Linked DNA regions of Homo sapiens: all the other regions are linked to region 3. The links are contacts of gene promoters, found by promoter capture Hi-C in human tissues and cell types (Jung and others, 2019). All regions are on one chromosome and are shown on one strand. The core of a region is centred on a gene start or on the middle of the fragment in contact, and the rest is flanking DNA. Distances in the headings are between cores, read along the strand shown.

Evidence for each region. Contacts are between HindIII fragments. The study calls those that stand out against the background at their distance.
Region 1: a fragment that was not itself captured here is called in contact with the fragment with the promoter of SEMA6C in region 3 in 1 of the 25 tissues and cell types used here (spleen).
Region 2: a contact is called between a fragment that was not itself captured here and the fragment with the promoter of SEMA6C in region 3, in 1 of the 25 tissues and cell types used here (spleen).
Region 4: a fragment that was not itself captured here is called in contact with the fragment with the promoter of SEMA6C in region 3 in 1 of the 25 tissues and cell types used here (spleen).

What each region holds. Positions count from the first base shown.
Region 1 is chr1:150,686,007-150,691,735 of GRCh38, forward strand. All of the region lies in intron 2 of GOLPH3L (golgi phosphoprotein 3 like), which reads right to left. Among named protein-coding and RNA genes, the nearest start is that of GOLPH3L, 8.3 kb to the right of the region's middle. The HindIII fragment of the contact is 5,683 bases long and covers 1-4,092 here.
Region 2 is chr1:150,822,789-150,828,263 of GRCh38, forward strand. It overlaps ARNT (aryl hydrocarbon receptor nuclear translocator), which reads right to left. Exons shown (of 22, transcript NM_001668.4): 13 at 3,755-3,829; 14 at 406-557. Among named protein-coding and RNA genes, the nearest start is that of CTSK, 17 kb to the left of the region's middle. RefSeq lists enhancers at 4,754-4,898, 5,319-5,463 and cis regulatory regions at 4,826, 5,391. The HindIII fragment of the contact is 6,293 bases long and covers 1-5,475 here.
Region 3 is chr1:151,144,917-151,150,620 of GRCh38, forward strand. It overlaps SEMA6C (semaphorin 6C), which reads right to left and starts at 1,715. Exons shown (of 19, transcript NM_030913.6): 1 at 1,517-1,715. It also overlaps a transcript of LYSMD1 not described here. RefSeq lists silencers at 1,463-1,922, 2,133-2,192. The HindIII fragment of the contact is 4,441 bases long and covers 214-4,654 here.
Region 4 is chr1:150,705,569-150,711,343 of GRCh38, forward strand. It overlaps HORMAD1 (HORMA domain containing 1), which reads right to left. Exons shown (of 15, transcript NM_032132.5): 8 at 3,326-3,393; 9 at 2,688-2,839; 10 at 985-1,241. Among named protein-coding and RNA genes, the nearest start is that of GOLPH3L, 11 kb to the left of the region's middle. The HindIII fragment of the contact is 4,564 bases long and covers 1,972-5,775 here.

The DNA.
Region 1 (5,729 bases), core at 1-2,500, 460 kb before region 3:
TGAGATTACAGGTGCGTGCCACCACACCCGGCTAATTTTTGTATTTTTAGTAAAGATGGGGTTTTACCATATTGGCCAGGCTGGTCTTGAATTCCTAACCTCATGATCTGCCTGCCTTGGCCTCCCAAAGTGCTAGGATTACAGGCGTGAGCTACCGCACCCAGCCAGCATGTCCTTTTTAAACTGCAAAGTCAGATATTTGTTTTTGTTTTGTTTTTCCTGTTTTGAGACAGAGTCGTGCTCTGTGGCCCAGGCTGGAGCACAGTGGTGTGATCATAGCTCAATGCAGCTTCGAACTCCTGGGCTCAAGTGATCCTCTCACCTCAACCTCCTGAGTAGCTGGGACTATAGGTTCACGCAGGGCTGTTTTCATTTTTTTGTAGAGATTGGGTCTCATTTTGTTGCCCTGGCTTGTCTTGAACTCCTGGCCTGAAGTAATCCTCCCATTTTGGCCTCCCAAACTGCTGGGAATACAGGCAGTGAAACACCACGCCCAGTTGCAGAGTCAGTTTGAATGTAAATTCCACAATTTATTGCCCAAATGATCATTTAACTTTGACTCCTATAAAGAGAATGATACCTGCCTTGCAGGATTAAACAATAGAAACTGCAAAATGTTTTGAAAATAAATTATACAAACAAAATATGGAGGCAAAAGTGATGAAATGGCTGACAGCAAGTTTATAGGCACAGTGGTTACAGCCAAAATCCCAAATTCAAGTGGGCAGCTTTGTCTCAATATCAATACTAGATATTTTATATTTTGGGAGAGTACTGTGTGCATTTGGGGATTGGAAGAATTAGGGAGAAGATCTTAATGAAATAGCTTAAGCTATATTTTCCTACTATTAAAACAGGTCTTTGGTCTTCCAGTTTATTTCCTTTTATACCAATAGTAAATAGTTATTTGGGGTTAATATGCCTGGATATAATAAAAAACAAAAGTTAATTTTTTTAACAGCTTATGTTTAAAGAAAAAAACCTGACAAACAAGCCCTTCTGATACAGTTGCCCTATTCACAATCGCAGTAGCTACTGGGAGACTTATTGTTCATTTTGCGCGATTAGGAAACTAAAAGGAAAGACCAGGTAGTAACTTAAATTAGACTTTTAATTTTTTTTTTTAAGACAAGGTCTTGTTCTTTGCTCGGCCTGCTATTAATATTTTAATTATAATAAAATGCTTTAGGATTGAGTCACTTTTTAAGGCGGCCAATTTTCTTCATTCATAGCCAATAATCAACAAGTTGGACACTGACTGACTGTGACTGATTTTAAAAACCTTTTTGGGCTGGGCGTGGTGGCTCACATCTGTAATCCCAGCACTTTGGGAGGTCGAGGCAGGCGGATCACCTGAGGTCAGGAGTTCGACACCAGCCTGGCTAACGTGGTAAAACCCCGTTTCTACTAAAAATACAAAAAATTAGCCGGGCGTGGTGGTGCATGCCTGTAATCCCAGCTACTTGGGAGGCTGACACAGGAGAATTGAACGCGGGAGGCAGAGGTTGCGGTGAGCCAAGATCGTGCCACTACACTCTAGCTTAGGTAACAAGAGCGAAACTCTGTCTCAAAAAAAAAACAAAAAAAAACTTTTTGATTAGTGAATTTTTTTTACCAGCTTTAAAGAAGCTTTTACTTCTAATCTCCTATTGCTAATAAAGATGAACTATACTTGATGGAGGATCATCAGCAGCTTGAAAAAGCGTAGCATTAACATACTTTATAATTAAAAATACATATGAATTTCATACGTATAATTCCCATACGTATAGTGGATAACAGTAGATTGTTTGAAAAAAGATAACTGACAAGTACCAGGAGAATTTTAGCAGCACTGTTCATAATGAACTCTTGAATGTGCATTAACCCATAGAATGAATAGTGGTATATTCATGTAATGAAATATTAATCAGGATGAACTGGATTAAACTATATGCAACAACATGGACAAATCTCACAAACATTATATTGATCAAAAGAATACATTAAAATATTAACCCAATAAAATAGAGTTTAAAAACAGGCAAAACTAAAATATATTGTTTAGGGATATACATACATGTCAAAACTACAGGGAAGTGGGCAGCATGTGATTAGGGGCAGGCATAAGAGAAGCCTTCCAGGATGCTGATATTGTTCTATTGGTGATTACATGACTGTTGGCTTTCAAACTACTTGTTAAACTGTATATATGTGCTTTATACAATTTTCTGGATACACTGTATTTCACAATTTTAGAAAACTTAAACAATAAAGCATGTAACTGGATGTTCAGCTCTCATACTTCAGTTTTAAAACACTGGAGTTCATTAAAAGGAGATGGGATGCTTTCAGACATCTGTGGTTATTCCAGTTGCACATCACTGAAATTATTAGGAACATCCAGTTGATGTTCTTTTTTCCTAGAACCTGTCTCTTTACAGACTAACTCACTCTTATTCCAGTTAAGAGTTATTACCTCCTGGCGGGGCGCAGTGGCTCACACCTGTAATCCCAGCACTTTGGGAGGCCAAGGCAGTTGGATCACCTGAGGTCAGGAATTCAAGACCAGCCTGGCCAACATGGTGAAACCCCGTCTCTACAAAAATACAAAAATTAGCCGGGGATGGTGGCAGGTGCATGTAATACCAGCTACTTGGGAGGCTGAGGAAGCAGAATCGCTTGAATCCGGGAGGTGGAGGTTGCAGTGAGCCAAGATCACGCCACTGCTTTGCAGCCTGGGTGACAGAATGAGATTCTATCTCAAACAAACAAACAACAAAAAAAAGAGTTATCACCTCCTGTAAGTCTTTCCCAACATCTCTTCTTCCCTCTCCTACTGCTCCTTCCCACCACCCATCTGATTTACGTGCTTTTCCTCTGTGTTTCCTTCCTACTCAGAACACACTTATACACATATCACATTGTTCTGAAATGGTCTGCTGACTTTCTGGCTTCTACTCCCAGCATCTCCAACCATCCCTATGCCACTAAACCATAAATTGACCTCAAAAGCAGGGACAATTGTTTTTGTTCTCTCTTTCTATGACATATGAGTCATTCAATAAAATTTTTGGTGATTAAACAAATAAGTGAAAATGTATTGCCATATTTCCAATGGATAATACTTCTTGCCAATTTTTACCACAGTGACATGAGAAATATGATGAAAAGCTTTTCTTTCACAGTAAGTAGTAAGTATTCAATAAATGGCATTACTAGGAGAAAGCTTTCCAAGAAAGAGAGGATGGTTGAAAAACATTATCCACAAATTAAATAGATGAGAAATGAAAAGACCACTAGGAGTCAAAAGCAGTAATTGGCTTACTCCCCTTACAGGTAACTTAAGAAACGATTCTAATAAATGAAAAGTTTTATACATTAGCAAGTCAATTAAAACACTGTTCATGAGTTAATAATCTATATCAAAACTCTTACCAAAGGCAATAATAACAAATAAGCAGATTCCTGATTTCAACAGGAGATAAACCTATTTTATTTTGGTCAGGCTTGTGCTCAATGTTTACTTTCTCAGTTGAGGTCAGTGTTATTGAACTGAGATAGTATCTAATTTTAACTGTGCTTGAAAGGTTATACTCTTCAAATTATATTTAAATTTCTTGATTGTTTTCATAAGACAATGATACTTAATATTTAATTTAATTAGTTTATATTTTTTGAGGCAGTCTTACTCTGTCACCCAGGCTAGAGTGCAGTAGTGTGACCTTGGCTCATTGCAGCCTCTGCCTCTTGGGTTCAAGAGATTCTCCCATCAGCATAGCTAGGATTACAGGTGCATGCCACCACACCCAGCTAATTTTTTTTTTCCTTTAGTAGAGATGGGGTTTCACCATGTTGGCCAGGCTGGTCTCGAACTCCTGGCCTCAAGTGATTTGCCCGCCTCAAACCTCCCAAAGTGCTGGGATTATAGATGTGAGCCACTGCGTCTGGCCAGATGCTTAATATTTTAAAACCAGTCTGTGGTAGTTACCCCTCAGAAGAATTTTTTTTTTTCTTTTAAGACAGGGTCTCACTCTGTCACCCAGGTTGGAGTACAGTGGCACAAACACAGCTCACTCCAGCCTTGAACTCCTGGGCTCAAGCAATCCTCTCGCCTCAATCTCCCAAGTAGCTGAAACTGCAGGTATGTGACACCATGCCAGGCTAATTTTTATATTTTTTGTAGAGATGAGGTCTCACTATGTTGCCCAGGTTGGTCTAGAATTCCTGGCCTCAGGCAATCCTTCTGTCTCCCAAAGTGCTGGGATTACAGACAGGAGCCACCGTGCCTGCTTGAAAGACACATAGTTTCTAAAAAAATGATAATACTGGGTTCTAAACAGAGGATCTTAGGGAACTCTCCAGTAAAAGTTTGGGAGTTTGGGACACAAAATTTAACATTTAGGATTTTTTCCTTTTTTGACTTGTCACAAATCCCAAACCATGTAAAAACAAGCAATTATATACACATTAAAACATACTCACAAAGAACATAAAAATGTTATTAAGCCCTTAATTTGGACACAAAAATGAAATGGGCTTTGCTGTTTTCATTAGGCTGATTCTCTTTTCCCTAAAGGAAAGAGTCTAAAAGTCTCTGCCTGGTAACAAAATCTATAATCTGGTCCAAATCGAATTTACTGATTTTGAATCCCATTGTTCTCCACCTACTTCAGTCATACTGGCCTACTCACAGTTATCTCCCAAACTCATCAAGCTCATGATACCTTTGCTCACTCAGGTTCCCTCATCCAGAACGTGTTTCCTTTTCTCCATTCATGTTAATCCTCCCATTTTTAAAGGCATGGCTTGTTTTACTGCCTTTTTCTATTCTTCCCCGGATTACTCTATCTCATGATGGTTTCTCCTCTCTCTAACTCCCTTGGCTCATTCTAACATGCAAAAACTTGCTTTTTATTGTTGTTTACTTTAAAAAAAATATTTTGCATTGTGAAATATAATGTACACACAGAAGAATAAACAAAACAAAGTAAAAAGCTTAATTATTCCAAAGTGAAGATCTATGGCCCAGGTGCAGTGGCTCACGCTTGTAATCCCAGCACTTTGGGAGGCCAAGGCAGGTGGATCACTTGAGATCAGGAGTTCAAGACTAGCCTGGCTAACATGCTGAAAACCCTTCCCTACTAAGAATACAAAAATTAGCCAGGAGGGACAGAGCAAGACTCCGTATCAAAAATAAATAAATAAATAAAAAAGGCCGGGAGCAGTAGTTTACGCCTGTAATCCCAGCACTTTGGGAGGCCACACCTATAATCCCAGCACTTTGGGAGGCCAAGTTGGGTGGGTCGCCTGAGAGGTCAGGAGTTCAAGACCAGCCTGACCAATATGGTGAAACCCCATCTCTACTAAAAATACAAAAATTAGCCAGGCATGGTGGCGGGTGCCTGTAATCCCAGCTACTCAGGAGATTGAGACAGGAGAATTGCTTGAACTCGGGAGGCGCAGGTTGCAGTGAGCCAAGATGGTGCCACTATACTCCAACCTGGGTGACAGAGCAAGACTCTGTCTTAAAAACAAAAACAAAAACAAAAACAAAACTATGAAACTTCCTCTAGGTCCAGAAACAGAAAATTGTTACTATCTAGAAATCCTCTCCATTTTCCTTCCTAATTACTAACACCCTTTTCCTTCCCCTATCCCTTACAAAAAGATAATCACTATTCTAAAAACTATAGTAATTCCTGGCTTGATTTTGTTTATAATTGTACCACCTAAATATGCAACCTCAA
Region 2 (5,475 bases), core at 1,455-3,954, 320 kb before region 3:
AAGTGGGAGCAGTCTTGTGGTACTGCATACACAAATTGGGGGATCTGATGCTATCTCCAAGTAGATAGTGAACTGAATTGAATGGAAGGACACCCAGCTGGTGTCCACTACTGATTGCTTGATTTCTTTTTTCTTTTTCTTTTTTTGAAATGGAGTCTCGCTCTGTAGCCCAGGCTGGAGTGCAGTGGCATGATCCCAGCTCACTGCAACCTCCACCTCTCAGGTTCAAGTGATTCTCCTGTCTCAGCCTCCAGAGTAGCTGGGACTACAGGCACATGCCACCACGCCCGGCTAAATTTTTGTGTTGTTGCTTGATTGTTTACCCCCCACATAGGGCATCAGAAGTGTTTTCTGTTGTGAGAACAGAGGAAAAACAGTTTTTTCACACTCCTGTATAATACATACTTCACATTGGTGTTGGTACAGATGATGTACTCAATTTCATCTGAGTAAGGGTTCTGGAAAGTAAAGGAGCTGGTTCTCATCCAGAGCCATTCTTGGTTCTTAGACCGGAACCGGAACATGACAGACAGCACTTGGCCTTTTAATTTCACTACCTGAAAAAGTTTTCATGCCATCAGTGGAACTCATAGAAAATTTTCATTACAAAAATAAATAAAAATTTTCCAATTTCTATAACCCTAAAACTCTTGTCATTGTCCTTGAGGCACCAATATTTTTCAATATTAAAACAAAATGAGAGTAAAAACTAAGTGATTAAACATGGAAGCATATTTCTCATGCTTCCTTTCAGAGACTTAAGCTTTTTTTTTTTTTTTTGAGACGGAGTCTCCCTCTGTCGCCCAGGCTGGAGTGCAGTGGCACGATCTCTGCTCACTGCAACCACCACCCCTCGGGTTCAAGCGATTTTCTTGCCTCAGCCTCCCGAGTGGCTGGGACTACAGGCGCGTGCCACCACGCCCAGCTAATTTTTTGTATTTTTAGTAGAGACGGGGTTTCACCATGTTAGCCAGGATGGTCTTGATCTCCTGACCTTGTGATCCGCCCGCCTCGGCCTCCCAAAGTGCTGGGATTACAAGTGTGAGCCACCGTGCCCAGACTTTTTTTTTTTTGAGACGGAGTCTCGCTCTGTCACCAGGCTAGAGTGCAGTGGCGCAATCTCGGCTCACTACAACCTCCGACTCCCTGGTTCAAGCGATTCTCCTGCCTCAGCCTCCCAAGTAGCTGAGATTATAGGCACGTGCCACCACGCCCAGCTAATTTTTGTATTTTTAGTATAGACGGGGTTTCACCATGTTGGCCAGGATGGTCTCGATTTCCCGACCTCGGGATCCGCCTGCCTCGGCCTCCCAAAGTGCTAGGATTACAGGCGTGAGCCACTGAGCCCGGCCAGAGACTCAAGCTTTCTTATTAGGTTGGTGCAAAAGTAATTGCATTTTTTGCCATTTAAAAAAATGGCAAAAAATCACAATTTCTTTTGCACCAACCTAATACTATTCTAGTCAAATAGGAATAATAACTTATTTCCAGGAAGGAAAAGACTGTTTCCCTACTTCCCTTGGGAAATCCATTAAAGATACTCTGACCTAGCTTTACAAGTCTATACCAGAAATTTGGTAAGTTTAAGGACACAGAATATAGCTTATATATTGCTCTTCAATCCTATTTTTTCCCCGAAACCTGAGAACATCTGTTTTCTTTTCTTTTTCTTTTTTTTTTTTTTTGAGATGGAGTCTCGCTCTGTCGCCAGGCTGGAGTGCAGTGGTGCAATCTTGGCTCACTGCAACCTCGCCTCCAGGGTTCAAGTGATTCTCCTGCCTCAGCCTCCTGAGTAGCTGGGGACTAGAGGCGTGCACCATCACGCCCAGCTAATTTTTGTATTTTTAGTAGAGACGGGTTTTCACCATGTTGGCTAGGCTGGTCTCAAACTCCTGACCTCAAATGATCCGCCTGCCTTGGCCTCCCAAAGTGCTGGGATTATAGGTGTGAGCCACTGCACCCAGATGAGAGCATCTGTTTTCACAGCATCTACAGAGGTTTCCATAAATAAAATTAAGTTGGCTTTAGTCTTGTTTTGCTTTTATTTTTTAAAAGTAATTTTAGTTATTTTATTTTTTATTTTATTTTATTTTTAGACAGTCTTGCTCTATCGCCCAGGCTGGAGTGCAGTGGGGCAATCTTGGGTCACTGCAACCTCTGCCTCCTGGGTTCAAGCAATTCTCATGCCTCAGCCTCCCAAGTAGCTGGGACTACAGGCATGAGCCACCATACCCGGCTAATTTTTGTATTTTTAGTAGAGACAGGGTTTCAAGATGTTGGCCAGGCTGGTTCAAACTCCTGGCTTCAAGTGATCACCTGCCTCAGCCTCCCAAAGTGCTGGGATTACAGGCATGAGCGACCATGCCCAGCCAATTTTAGGTTATTTTAGATACTAGTCTCATGGAATAGAAAATAATCTTTTAACTCTATATTCCTAAAAATTAAAAAAATAAAAATAAACAGTATTAGAAGCTAACCACTTATTTTGTAATACTACGTATCAAATACTGGGTGATGTGTTTTATATTCATTACCTTATTTAATCTTCCCAACAACCGTCTGAATTTAGGTACTATTAATATATTCATTGTATCAATAACGACACTACTGAGACTTAAAGAGGTTAATTAACTTGTCTAATACAAAGTAAAAACCGTTATCAAAAGCCATGTCTATAAAATTCACCAGATATTTTCAGGAGCTGGAGCCTGAGAATGACAATTAACAGTCAGCTTATATAATTCATTACGACTCTCACTCATCCATAAAAGAACAGTCTAGGCTGGGCGCAATGGCTCATGCCTGTAATCCTAGCACCTTGGGAGGCTGAGGTGGGTGGATCACGAGGTCAGGAGATCGAGACCATCCTGGCCAACGTGGTGAAACCCCGCCTCTACTAAAAATACAAAAATTAGCTGGGCGTGGCAGCATGTGCCTATAATCCCAGCTACTCGGGGGGCTGAAACAGGAGAATCGCTTGAACCTAAGAGGCAGAGGTTACAATGAGCTGAGATTGCACACTACACTCCACCCTGGCGACAGAGCTAGACTCCTTCTAAAAAAAAAAAAAAACTATATAAAATGAATTTTTCTACTACAAGCTTAGTGAAGTATACAATTTTCTTTTTTATCTTTTTTTTTTTGAGACAGAGTCTAGCTCTGTCATCCAGGCTAGAGTACAGTGGCATGATCTCAGTTCACAGCAACCTCTGCCTCCCAGGTTCAAGTGATTCTCGTGCCTCAGCCTCCCGAGTACCTGGGATTACAGGCATGCACCACCATACCAGGCTAATTTTTTGTATTTTTAGTAGACATGGGGTTTCACTGTGTTGGCCAGGCTGGGCTTGAACTCCTGGCCTCAAGTGATCCACCTGCCTCAGCCTCCCAGAGTGCTGGGATTATAGGCGTGAGCCACCATGCCCAGACGAGGAAAACATCTATTTTCACAGCATCTACAGAGGTTGGGCGCATGAGCCACCATGCCTGGCGCAATAGTTTAAATACCTTAAAGACAGCTCCTTGGATACAGTTAATTGAATACAAGACAGTAAATAGCCAAAGCCAAACAGAAATACCTTGGGCATTATCCATAATTTCAAAGTATTAGTCCTTTTCTATTCCTTAAAAATGCAGATTAACTACTAAAGAACATAAAACTGTAGTGCCTGCCACAGTGTTCAGTTAATCAGTAGTCAATATTTATGGAGTGAATATGACAAATATTTATTCAGAACCAAACCAGGAAAAAAGTTACCTGTTGGAAGCTGTCTCTTAGAAGCTGCTGGTCTTCAGGATGACAGAATTCTACAATATTCTTTCCTAAGAGTTCCTAGAATACAGAAAGAAGAGTAAGATATATACTTTTTTTTTTTTAAGATGGAGTTTCGCTCTTGTTGCCCAGGCTGGAGTACGATGGCGCGATCTTGGCTCACTGCAACCTCCACCTCCTGAGTTCAAGCAATTTTCCTGTCTCAACCTCCCAAGTAGCTGGGATTACAGGGGTGTGCTACCACACCTGGCTAATTTTGTATTTTTTTAAATAGAGACAGGGTTTCACCATGTTGGTCAGGCTGGTCTCGAACTCCTGACCTCAAGTGATCCACCCGCCTCGGCCTCCCAAAGCGCTGGGATTACAGGTGTGAGCCACCGTGCCCAGCCAACATATATAATTTTATGGTCATCTAACTGGCCTGGTCCATCAGCTGGGGACCTGGATTTTATTTCTTCTGTTTTAATCCTAAGATTATAGTTAAGTGAGGAGGAGAAAAAAAAAAGACAATAAACAAAAGATGAAATCTACTAAAAAAAGGCAGAATCTGTTAAGGAGCTGGCTTCTAAAACATTTTTCTTTCTCAGAATATTATACATTTATTTTAATGAGATTATAAATTTTAGATAAAATTTACATTCATAATTCAGCCATTCTAAGTGTATGATTTGATGATGTCTACTAAATTTATAGTTGTGCAATGATTACCACAATCCAGTTTCAGAACACATTCACTGCCCCAAGATGTTCCCTTGTGCCATCTGCAGTCAATCTCTGCTCCCACTCCAACTCCCCAGCCAACCACAAATCTGCTTTCTGCCTCTCTAGTTCTGCTATTTCTACAAATTTCATATAAATAAAACAACATAATATGTGGTCTTTTGGGTCTGGCTTCTTTCATTGAGCATGGTATTTTTGAAGTTCATCTACATGGCTGCATTATCAGTAGTTTATTCCTTTTTATGCTCAGTAGTATTCTCACATGGATACAACACAGTTGTGTATTCATTTACAAAATGTTAATGGACGTTTAAATAGTTTTCATTTTTTTGGCTATTATGAATAATACAGATATGAACTGTGTACAAATCTATGGGTGAACATGTTTTCATTTCTCTTAGGTAGATACTCAGGAATAAAATTGCTAGGTTATAGGCTAAGAGTATGTTTAACTTTGTAGGAAACTGCCAAAATGCTTTTGCAAAGCTAGTAGCTATACCATTTTACATGTCTATCAGCAATGTATGAGGGTTCCTTCCAGCTTCTACACATTTTCACCAATACTTTTTGATTACAGCCATTCTAGTGGGTATATAGTGGTATCTCATTGTGATTTTAATTTGCACTTTCCTAATGGTAAAAAGATGTTGAGCATCTTTTCATGTGCATAAATGCATATTTATTCTTCAGTCAAATGTCAAGTCTTATGCTCTTTTTTACCAGCTGTTTGTCTTAATGAGTTGTTTATATATTCCTGGTACAAATCCTCTTTCAGGTATATGACTTGTAACTATTTTCTCTCCATTTATGTCTGGTCTTTTCATTTTCTTAATAATATCCTTTAAAGAGGGCAAATTTTAATTACAATTAAATCCAATTTATAATTTTTTTTCTTCTGTGAATCATGCTTTTAGTGTAAGAAATCTTTTGCCTAACTCAAAATCACAAAGATTTTCTCCTAGGAGTTTATTTGTAACTTTAGCTCT
Region 3 (5,704 bases), core at 465-2,964:
GTCTACACACACACACACTCACACCCCACTTTAGGCTGGATTAGTCCAGCCTCTACAAACACTTGGCTGGCCTTTGCATTGGCCTTCTAGACTCAACTATGATACACCTTTAAGAGGGCTTCTTGTAGCTGTTTCTGGGAAGCAGCATCTGGTCAGCTCCTCAACTCCTGGCCTGGAGAAAAGATCACTCTGCCCTGGAAGAATCCGAGCTGCTTCACACACCCCATCTGAAGCACATGGGAGAGACCTGGCCGACTCTCCCCTTTCCAGATCCTCCCGTTGCTGGGAAGAGGAAACAGCCCTTCTCTCTCCTGGCCCCGAAGCCACCTCTGGGGAATGGCTGGGGTCACAGCCAGAGTCTAGGAGAGCTGTGGAAGGGATGGAGAAGGGGAGACTGGGCTGGGGACAATAGCAGGAAGCCTTTGGGCTGGTCGCCCGCCCCAGTCCACCTTCCTCAGAGGGAGCAGGGTCGCGCCAAGGAGCCTGTGGAACCGGAGCTTTCCTTTCTCCAAGCCATTTCCCCCACTCTTAGCTCTTAGCCCCACACTCAGCACCTACCCTCCTTCCCACCCAACCCCCAACCAGGACAATCCAGGTGTCTAAAGCCTCGAAAAGAGGTGGGCCTAGGGCCAGGGGCTCGACCTGTCTCCCCCTCACCGGATCCGGGGCTCCGAGGAGGGGCCGGTAGCAGAGTCTGGGCCGGGACCGGGTCCCAGAGCCACGTTAGCGAGAGGAGGGGCTGGAGGGGCCTGCAGGCGCAGACGAAGAGGGGATAGGAGCGGGGGTTGGGGAGCGGAGGCGGGTCTCCCAGGCCAGGGAAACAGGGCCAGAGGCTGAGAACCGACGAGGGCGGGCCTGAGGCCGGCGCTCAGTGGGGACCGTGGGCTCAGGAGGCAGTTGCCAGCTCGGATGTCCTCCTTGGGAGACCTCAGTCTAACAAAGCCCCGGGCCGAGCGGGCTGAAGGAAGGAGATAGGCGCTGGGACCGATGTTGCTCGAGGGCCCCATTCGCCGCCTCTTTGCACGAGCCAACCCTTCAGAGGGTGCTCAGATTCCGGCTTGCACAAGGACAGAGGAGCACCCGTGACACAAAGTCCGGAACGATGCGTCCCTCTTCCCATCCCTTCAGGGGCGTCAGGAGGGTCTAGTTCTCCGTGGGTCTCGGAGCCCTAGTTTCCTTGCTGGGAAAGCAAGGGGCCAGGTTTTCCACGCTCTCTACGGAGCGCGCCTCAAATAATCCCTTTTCGCGCTTCCCAGTCCAGCGGGATGCGACTCGACGAAAGCCCAATTGAACGAGGTGCCCAGACTCTGCTCTCACCAGTACAGTTACGGGGCTCGGCCACTGTCCCTCCTTCCTCCCTGCACCCCAATTTCGTTGACCCTCTCCGTCAGCCAGGCACACCGGGCGCCGACACCTCCCTGGTCCCCTAGCGCTTCAGAAGCTTGCCCCCCGCCGGCCGCGCCCTCCTGCTCCCTCCCCGCCTCCCCGCAGCCCCTTCCCTGCCCGGGGTACTTGCTCCAGGATTCGGGTCAGCGGGATCGAGATCGCCGCGGGCGGCCAGCGGCCACGCGCTGCGCTGAGTTCGCAATCCGTGGTTGTGCTCAGGCGAGATGCGATGAGCGTCCGAATTGGATGGTGCTTGAATTTGGGTTCCAGGGCGCTGTCGGGAGAGCCCTGGGTCCAAGTCCAGCCGCGGATCCGCGGAGGAAAACAATGCGACCGCCCGGGGCTCTGGGCTCGGCCCCAGTGGCCCCGCCCGCCTCCCAGCCGGGCCCACCTCCTGCCCGCCTTTGGGTCGCCGCGACTAATCCCGCCCTCGGAGGGCGGCTAGACACCGCCTTCTCGTCACCTCTCCGCCAATAGTGCTGCCCGGGGAGGGGCGCCAGGAGCACCGTCCACCCAGAGGGCCAGGCCGGGAGGCTGAACTGGAGACCAGAGACAGACGCGAGATGGAGAGACCCACGGACAGTCGCCGACACCGGGCAGAGGAAGAAATACATACAGAAGCAGAGACAGGCTGGCACAGGAGAGGCTCTGGGGAGAAATTTCCCAAGAGAGGAAGAGGAGCTGGGAGGAGAAACAGACAGGAAACCTGGGAGCCTCGCGGGGCTGGGCTGGGCTGTCAGAGCCTGCGCGATCCGTCCTCCCTTCCCCTCCTATACGGCTTGGGCGACCTTGCTCCCGAGGGCGCATCCCGCATCTCCCTGACTCTGCCCCCAACTCTCTGTTGCTCCTCTCTATGCGTTGTCCCTCTGTCTCCTTATTTCTCCCCGTAGGCCTCCTCTGGTTCGTCCTGACCCGGATAAGGAGGCCTAGCATGCGCGTGGGGGCTGGAGGCCTGGGAAAGGAAAGGAAGGTGTCAGCAGGAGGTTTCCCTTGTTTCCATGATCTCCTCCCCTCCCACCTCTACAAAGCAGCATGAGTTTGGGCCACTATGGCAAGAACTAGCTAGCAGTCAGGCTGTTGGGTAATGGAAGAGGGCAGGTGAGAGAGGCTGAAGCCAAAACAGATGTGGAAATCAAGACTAACTGACTCAGAGAAAGGCACAAAGAGTAGCAACGCTAAGACTTGATAAAGTAACCCACACAGCCTTCCTGCCCCACAGACATACGTCCCACCTTTCCTCAGAGGACCGTGACATCCCTCCAAACAGCAAAACTGCCCCTTCTCCCTCCCCACCCTTCATAAAGCCCCTGGGAATGTCAGTGAGGAGGAAGAATAAACTACTACAGACAGGATTGCTTGGTACCTTGGTATTGCCTGGTAGGATTCTTCTCTATGTGGGGCTGGGACAAAAGACATTCTCAAAATTCTCCAGGAAAGTGGGTGGCCTGGGAGACACTGGCATTCTCAGATAGTTTTATCTGACTGAACACTTCTACCCACATCTTGGACTCTGGACTAGAGGAAAGGAGGGGGAAGGGGTTTGCCACTTTAGGCCAGCCTTAACTGGACTGTGATCAGGGAGGGGAGTATCAACAACTAGGCTAAGCCCCACAGCGAGTACACAAGAGACCTAAACATACACACACATGTGCACACGCACATACAGAGAAAGAGAGAGACAGAGAGACAGATTTAAGGCCAGGTGAACCAGTAAGATGAACAGTAACTCAGTAAAGTCAGATCTAAAAAAAATAGAAGAAGATAAACAGGGACAATATCTACACAGAATTAACGGCCGAGGGATCTTGGGTCCAAGGCAATTCAACAAACTGTCAGACAGTTGGGGTTGTTTTAAAGGCTGGAAAGAAATTTTCAGAGAAAGACACCTCAAAATACAGAGGCACTGAGAGGTTAAAAGAAATCTCCTCAGCTCCTAGCACAGGGTTTAGGTACTCAGATACATGCTTATGGAATAGATTAGTGAGTGGGGATTAAGGTGTAATTCATTTAAAGTTTTAGGACCCAGCTCAAATCTCAGTTCAATCCAGTAAGTATTAAACACTTACTTGAGACACAATCTACTACACAATCCACTGTGGGTTGTGGTTCCAGACTTTAAGAAAATGATAATATATTTGAATTAAAATAAGATTTGCACATACTAAACTATTAAAAAGTCTAAACTATTAAAAAGACAGTACTAAATATTAAATATTTAATAGTACTAAACTATTAAAAAGACAACACCAAGTCTCAAAAGAAAAGCTACATTGAACATAAATTTCCAAATGTGCAAAGAAGACAATAAATATTCTCCGAAGACTGCACAGAAAGATGCTGGATACATTTTATCATGAAGGACAGGAAAACTTTGGTGGGAGTTGGCTTGGTGCAAAAGAAGAAAATGTTCCCGAGGGACACAGCTTCAGCAAAAGCTTTTACTTGGTTAGCAAGGAGCCTGCAGCATGGATAAAAAAAAGGTCCTGTGAGGCTGGTGTGTGGGAAAGGCACTAGTTAGGAGCAAGGGGAGGGAAAAGGGGAAGACAAATTACAGAAGGCCTGGAATGACTAGGTGAGCTGGTTAAAATCATCTGACAGGAGTAGGACGTCATTTTAAATTCTTGAAAAAGGGTGCAACTTGTATTTTTTTATTTTTTTAAGCAAGAAGACAGAGACCTACTAGCAAGTAAACAAGGTTTAAAGGTGAGGGGAGAGGGACAATCAGACAAGGGTGATGGGAACAGATTTAGAAAGAAATACATGAATCTGAGAGCTATTTTGAAGGACAAATCAAAATGACTCTCTTGGCTGGGCGAGGTGGCTCACCCCTGTAATCCCAGCACTTTGGGAGGCCGAAGTGGGCAGATCACCTGAGGTCAGGAGTTCTGAGACCAGCCTGGCCAACATGGAGAAACTCCAGCTCTGCTAAAAATACAAAAAAAAATTAGCCGGGTGTGGTGATGGGCACCTGCAATCCCAGCTACTCAGGAGGCTGAGGCAGGGGAATTGCTTGAACTCAGGTGACAGGAGATTGCAGTGAGCCAAGATCGTGCCACTGCACTCCAGCCTGGGTGACACAGAGGGAGACTCTTAAAAAAATAAAAATAAAAATAAAAAACCTCTCTTCCTACTCCCTTAGTGTTTTGAAGAAAATCACACAGTCCTGGCCGGGCGCAGTGACTCAGGCCTGTAATCCTAGCACTTTGGGAGGCTGAGGCGGGTGGATTGCCTGAGCTCAGGAGTTCGAGACCAGCCTGGGCAACAACAGTGAAACCCCGTCTCTACTAAAATAAAAAGAATTAGCCGGGCGTGGCGGTGTGCGCCTGTAGTCCCAACTACTGGGGAGGCTGAGGCAGGAGAATTGCTTGAACCCAGGAGGCGGAGCTTGCAGTGAGCCGAGATCGCACCACTGCACTCCAGCCTGGGCAACAGAGCGAGACTCCATCTCAAAAAAAGGAAATCACACAGTCCCACAGATTGGATTGGAAAAGCACTCTCTTCCAATCCCCAGGGAGATATTTCAAACTTCCTCCTTTTTTTGCAAGTTCCTTTCCTTACCATTTCCTTGTTCATCTCAGGAAAACCCTCATCCGTCTTCAGAGAAAACAGAGATAATAAAGTGAGAATTCCACCAACTTTTTGCTCCCTACAGATATACTTACCTGCATCATGTCTCTCTCATCCTAGTGAATGCCATCCGTATCACCTGTCGAAGGTTCACCTATGACTTTACTGTAAGTTGTATGCAGTCCCTGGTTGTCTATCTTGCTCAACACTGTATCCTTTCCTTGTAGCATAGTGCCTGCACACAGAAAGTATTAACTTAAAAAAAAAATAGAGGCAGAGTCTCATTGTGTTGCCCAGGCTGGTCTTGAACTCCTAGGCTCAAGTGATTCTCCTGCCTCGGCCTCTCGAACTGCTGGGATTACCGGCGTCAGCCACCATTCCCAGTCTTAACCTGTCCTTTTCTACTGATATTTTCCCCTTAGCATATACACATGCTCAAGTAATTCCCATGATTAAAAGGAAAACATTCCAAACTTTCTCTTGATCCTTGTCTGCACCCAGTCATCACTCGATTTCTCTTCCCTTCATAACTAAGCTTCTAGAGTTACCTATACTTGCTATATCCATTTTCATGATTCTCATTCTCAATCATTTTAGTTTTTGTCCCCATCAGTCCACTGAGATTGCTCTCATTAAGGCCACCAACGACCTCCTGGTCACATTCAATGAACAACTCTTCAGTCTTTATCCTTTTGCCCTCTCTGTGCCATTTGACCTGTTGACTCCCCCCTCCTTGAAATGCTTTCTTCTT
Region 4 (5,775 bases), core at 3,004-5,503, 440 kb before region 3:
TTGAAGGATAAGCTCAGTCATGTTATGGTAGAAATTGCAACAGGTTTAATGTCTACATTACAATTATTGTTCCCTTTGTGATACATGTGAAAGAGATTTAAATATTTTAAAGAATGCTACAAACACCTCAGCCATATTTGTTATAAAGCAAGACTGGGATTTAGGTCTTAGAAAAAAGTTTTTTTCTTTAACTGAATTGGTTGAAAATTGATTGAATTTTCTATGTGTAAAGATGTGGTTAGACAGCCTAATCAGAATAGTGAATCTCTGTACATAAGTACTGTAGTCATAATTTAGAATAAATTGAGACACAGAATACAAGAGAGGTGAGATTAAAGGACATAATGTTAATGCTTGAAAGATTAAAGCAATAATGACTTCCATATTTGCTGGAAGTGAGGCAACAAAAAAACTCTTTTATACTTCTATTCATCCATTCACTCGACTAATACTTAGGACGCACTAACTAGAAATCCAAGTGCTAGGCACAGGATGATTAAAAAGTTGAATGAGACACTTTTCCTGACTTCCAGGAACTTCCAGGCTGCTTCAGAACAGTGACTTTCCAGGCCCTAGAGAAATTCAAGCACAGGCTACCTGAACACTTAGTAGGGATGTTGTAGAAAAGATTCCATCATTAGCCGGGAGTTAGACTAGTGCAATGCTTTTCAAATTATGCCCTAGAGTCCTAGGGGTTTCCTCAGAGTCCACTAAGAAGGTAAGTGACATAGGGAGTGGCAGAGCCTCCAGGAACATTCCCTACTTCAACCAGAATAGTTGTGCTTTTAAGTTCTAGTACAATGTTGTTTGGGCTAAGTAAAAAGTTTTAAAACCATAGGCCTAGACTTTAAGGTCCCTTTCAACCTTGAGTTTATGATTATAATACAGAATTTACACAAATGTTAATGGGAGCTATGAAAAATCTTCAGAATTGAGTCAAACATTTGTTATTATTGTTCTTTATAACTCTTGAAATACACTTACACTTGTATAATGCTCCTGTTCATCTTCTACATCTTTGTCCCTCAGGATTTTTTGAAATGGTGTTTTTATTTGTTTTGGTGATAGTATAGTTGAGTCAATATTTTCCATTCGTTCTCTCTCAGTGGTCACTTTTACTTTGAAGATGTGAAAAGGTGTTGAGACTTCTCCCACATTTAAATACATAGGTTCCCCTTCAAATATAACTCCTTCACAATCACCATCCTTAAAACCGGGAGGCTGGTAATCTGGGGGTGTAACTGCAAAAAAGTAAGTGTAAACTGTGCTGTTCATGAAATTAAAGAAAATATAATTATTATTATAAAAACACACGCAGATTGCAGGTATTTCAAATAGTATATAAGGGCATAAGGTAAAACATACGAATTACTCTCCTGCTATGTCCAAGTCCCCATTTTATTCCCTAAAGGTAAGCTTTGTTTTCTTCACTTGACTGTCTGTGACCTTGAGTAAATTATTCATCATCCCTGATTTGATTTTCTCATCTGTCAAATGGTGAAAATAATAGTACCTACTTCATAGGGTCATTGTGGGAATAAAATAAAGTGTCGTAAAATGTTGAGAAGAGAACTGGCACATAGTAAATACTCAATAAATGTTAGTTGTTATTTTTGTTGCTTTATGTTCTTCTAGAAGACATGCATATAATAAAAGATATTTCATATTTACATAGGTTTTAGGAAATACATATAAAATTTCTTAAAAAACACAAATGAGCTCATACCATTCCATACCTAGCTGGTTTTAACTTAATAATATATCTTGGATAACGTAATTTATCAGCACCTTCTTTTTAACAGCTTGTGTAGTATTCTATTACGCAGATGGACCATAATTTATTTACTCAGTCCCCAATGAAGGACACTGAAGTTGTTTCCAGTTTGTTCCTATTTTAGCCAATGCTATAATCAAAATCCTTATATAACTTTGCGTATTTGCACAATTATATCTTCAATATATTTTTCTCACTATAGAATTTCTGGATTAAAGATAGTGTGCATTTAAAATTTTGATACTGCCAAATTGTCCTCTAAAAATGTTGCACCTGTTTACAGTCCCTCGCGTGTACAAAAGTGCCTGCTCAGCCGGGTGCTGTGGCTCACGCCTGTTATTCCAGTACTTTGGGAGGCCAAAGCGGGTGAATCACTTGAGATCAGGAGTTCAAGACTAGCCTGGCCAACACGGTGAAACCCCATCTGTACTAAAAATACAAAAATTAGCCAGGCATGGTGGCGAGTGCCTGTAGTCCCAGTTACTCAGGAGGCTGAGACAGGAGAATTGCTTGAACCCAGGAGGTGGAGGCTGCAGTGAGCTGAGATTATGCCACTGCACTCCAGCCTGGGAGACAGAGCAAGACTCTGTCTCAAACAAAAAAAAGTTCCTGTTTCCCCACATCCTTATCAATAATGGATTAACACGTTTTACCAATCTGATAAGTGAAAACTGTTAACTCATTGTTAAATTTGAGTGAGGTTATACTTCACATGGATATGTTCCTATCACTAGAGAAGCATCTATTTTAAAGCTTAATTTTGTAAATCTTTCTTTCTTGAATAGTGATATTAAGTGTAAATTTTATAATTTCAAAAAATTTAGGTGCTAAAAATATTTGGAATGGAAACCAATTGTTTCAATAATGATAAAACATATGTACCAACTGAAACAGGATGTATTGCAAATAGTACCTTCATCATAGTAAAAAAGTTTCATGGTCAAACAAACATCATTAGGTAAAGGCCCCAGATTTTGCATTAGGATATAAATCTTGCGAATGAGGAGAATGCTTGCTTTCTTGGTGTCAGTAGACAACATGCTAGATTCGTTGCTTTGGTTTTTACTAGAAGAGAATCACATATTAATTTATTTTATAAAACCTGTGGCTTCTAATATCATAACTTTACATTTTAACTATTTGAGATTCTTATTTCTATTATAGCATTAAGCTGTTAACTTGAAAGTTACCATGTGTTTTAATGTCACTATTATAAAATTTTAATATTAATATCTGCTAGAAATAATAACTTAATTTTACTTAAGTGCATTTTATATGAAGTGTTTAAAGAAAGCACATTATGTTTTAAAATTATATTTCTATATTTCTAATCACCTAAGTTCTCTTTCCACAATTAAAATTGCTTATTATTAGCCACAGAATCCTGGCTTGAAGCTACTGCAAGCCACCACTCCATTTTGCATAGCCACATCTTGATGGTTAATTGGGGATGTCCCCGCAGTTTCAGAATGAATCCTGAGGTTTAGCTATATAGCATTAATATGAATAAGTGGTAATCTGTAATACAAACAGAAAACTATAGAACAATACCTTATGAAGTCCATGAGTGGTCCATTATTGGTGTATTTGAATTTGAATTGGTAACATTCTGAAATTGTCTTAAATAGAAAATATCGCAGTTATGCTTCTGATATTCAGTACTAGCTGCTAAATAGCTATATTCTGTTTTGTATGACTCAACATTTAGTCAATACTTTTTTCTGCCATATTAATCCCTATTGATCCATTGAAACTTTTGATTCCTCATAGTCAGTTTTCATGGTTTGGGTTTGGGGCTTCAGTCTTGGAGAGACATTTATTTCCCAACTCATTGTAATGTATGTTATTGTAGGGAAAAGAGAGATCAGACTGTTACTGTGTCTATGTAGAAAGGGAAGACATAAGAGACTCCATTTTGAAAAAGACTTGTACTTTAAATAATTGCTTTGCTGAGATGTTGTTAATTTGTAGCTTTGCCCCAGCCACTTTGACCCAACCACTTTGATCCAATCTGGAGCTCACAGAAACATATGTTGTATGAAATCAAGGTTTAAGGGATCTAGGGCTGTGCAGGACGTGCCTTGTTAACAAAATGTTTACAAGCAGTATACTTAGTAAAAGTCATCGCCATTCTCTAGTCTCAATAAACCAGGGGCACAATGCATTGCGGAAAGCCGCAGGGACCTCTGCCCTTGAAAGCGGGGTATTGTCCAAGGTTTCTCCCCATGTGATAGTCTGAAATATGGCCTTGTGGGATGAGAAAGACCTGACCGTCCCCCAGCCCGACACCCATAAAAGGTCTGTGCTGAGGTGGATTAGTAAAAGAGGAAAGCCTCTTGCAGTTGAGATAGAGGAAGGCCACTGTCTCCTGCCTGCCCCTGGGAACTGAATGTCTCGGTATAAAACCCGATTGTACATTTGTTCAATTCTGAGATAGGACAAAAACCGCCCTATGGTGGGAGGCGAGACATGTTTGCAGCAATGCTGCCTTGTTATTCTTTACTCCACTGAGATGTTTGGGTGGTGAGAAACAAATCTGGCTTACGTGTACGTCCAGTCATAGTACCTTCCCTTGAACTTAATTATGACATAGATTCTATTGCTCACATGTTTGTTGCTGACCTTCTCCTTATTATCACCCTGCCCTCCTACTACATTCCTTTTTACTAAAATAATGAAGATAATAATCAATAAAAACTGAGGGAACTCAGAGACCGGCGCCGGTGCAGGTCCTTGGTATGCTGAGCGCCGGTCCCCTGGGCCTACTATTGTTTCTCTATACTTTGTCTCTGTGTCTTATTTCTTTTCTCAGTCTCTCGTCCCACCCGACTAGAAATACCCACAGGTGTGGAGGGGCAGGCCACCCCTTCAGTTATTTATACCACATGGAAGGAACTCCTTAGCAGGCAGATAAGGGAGGCAACATACCTCAGCAGAGTGGCTAACACAGGGCATAAATCTTTGCTATACTGTAACCACAGGCAAGCCACTTAAGCCTTAGTTTAAGTATTAGTTTCCCCAGCTAAAAAAGAGATTAAAGACAGTACATATCTCATTGATAGTTGTGAATAAATATTCACAAATGGGATAATTTATACAGGGTACTTTATAAAGTACCTGACATATAGTAAACATTCAATAAATATTATTATTGTATCAACAAGGTTGCTAATTTACTGATAGAAAAAATGCACAACTATATAACATATGAAAATAAATGAACATTTTCTGAACAATCAATTAGTTTTCTGAACACAATCTATTAATTCACAGCCTTTACCCAAATGATCTGCTTTGTCAGCATGGATACATATTAAGCATTAATCGCAGGTGTGAGTATCAAAGAAAAGACACATTCTCAGCCCTCCTGAAGCCTGAATACTTCTATTGCTTTCTTTATATTTCATTGCTTACATAGTGATGTTTTTAAACGTCTATTTTTAACACCAGTTTAAATCTACCTCTCCTTGACTGAATGAAACGTTATATTGTAACAGCTATAGCGTAATGGGTAAACACCCAAATTGTGAACTGGCCTTCCTAGGTTCAAAAACCTGGTTCTGCCACTTCAGCCACTATGACCTTAGGCAAGAAACCCCTTGTACTTAGATTTCCTCATCTGTAAAGCGGAGATGCTAATAGTGGTTACCTCATGAAGGTTGGGATGAATAAATGAGATAATGCACATAAAGCCCCAAAGAACAGAGCCTAATATAAAGTAAGCACTCAGTAGATCTTTCCCCCTTGTTTCTTATCTTCTGGTTTTCCCTTTCACGTTCTCCCTTCTCTCCTTTAATGGTAAGATAAATAGGTAGCTATGAATGGATTGGGATGAATATTCGAAGTTTAAGGATGACTTTCTTACTTTCCTAAAACTCAAGCCCTTTCATAATTCTAAAATGTAGTATAAAAAATACTATAAAGAATTAGACGTCAGGAGATTTAAGTTAAGTTTCTAACAGTTTGTAAGCTTTGTGGCCTAAGATCAGTCACATAATCTC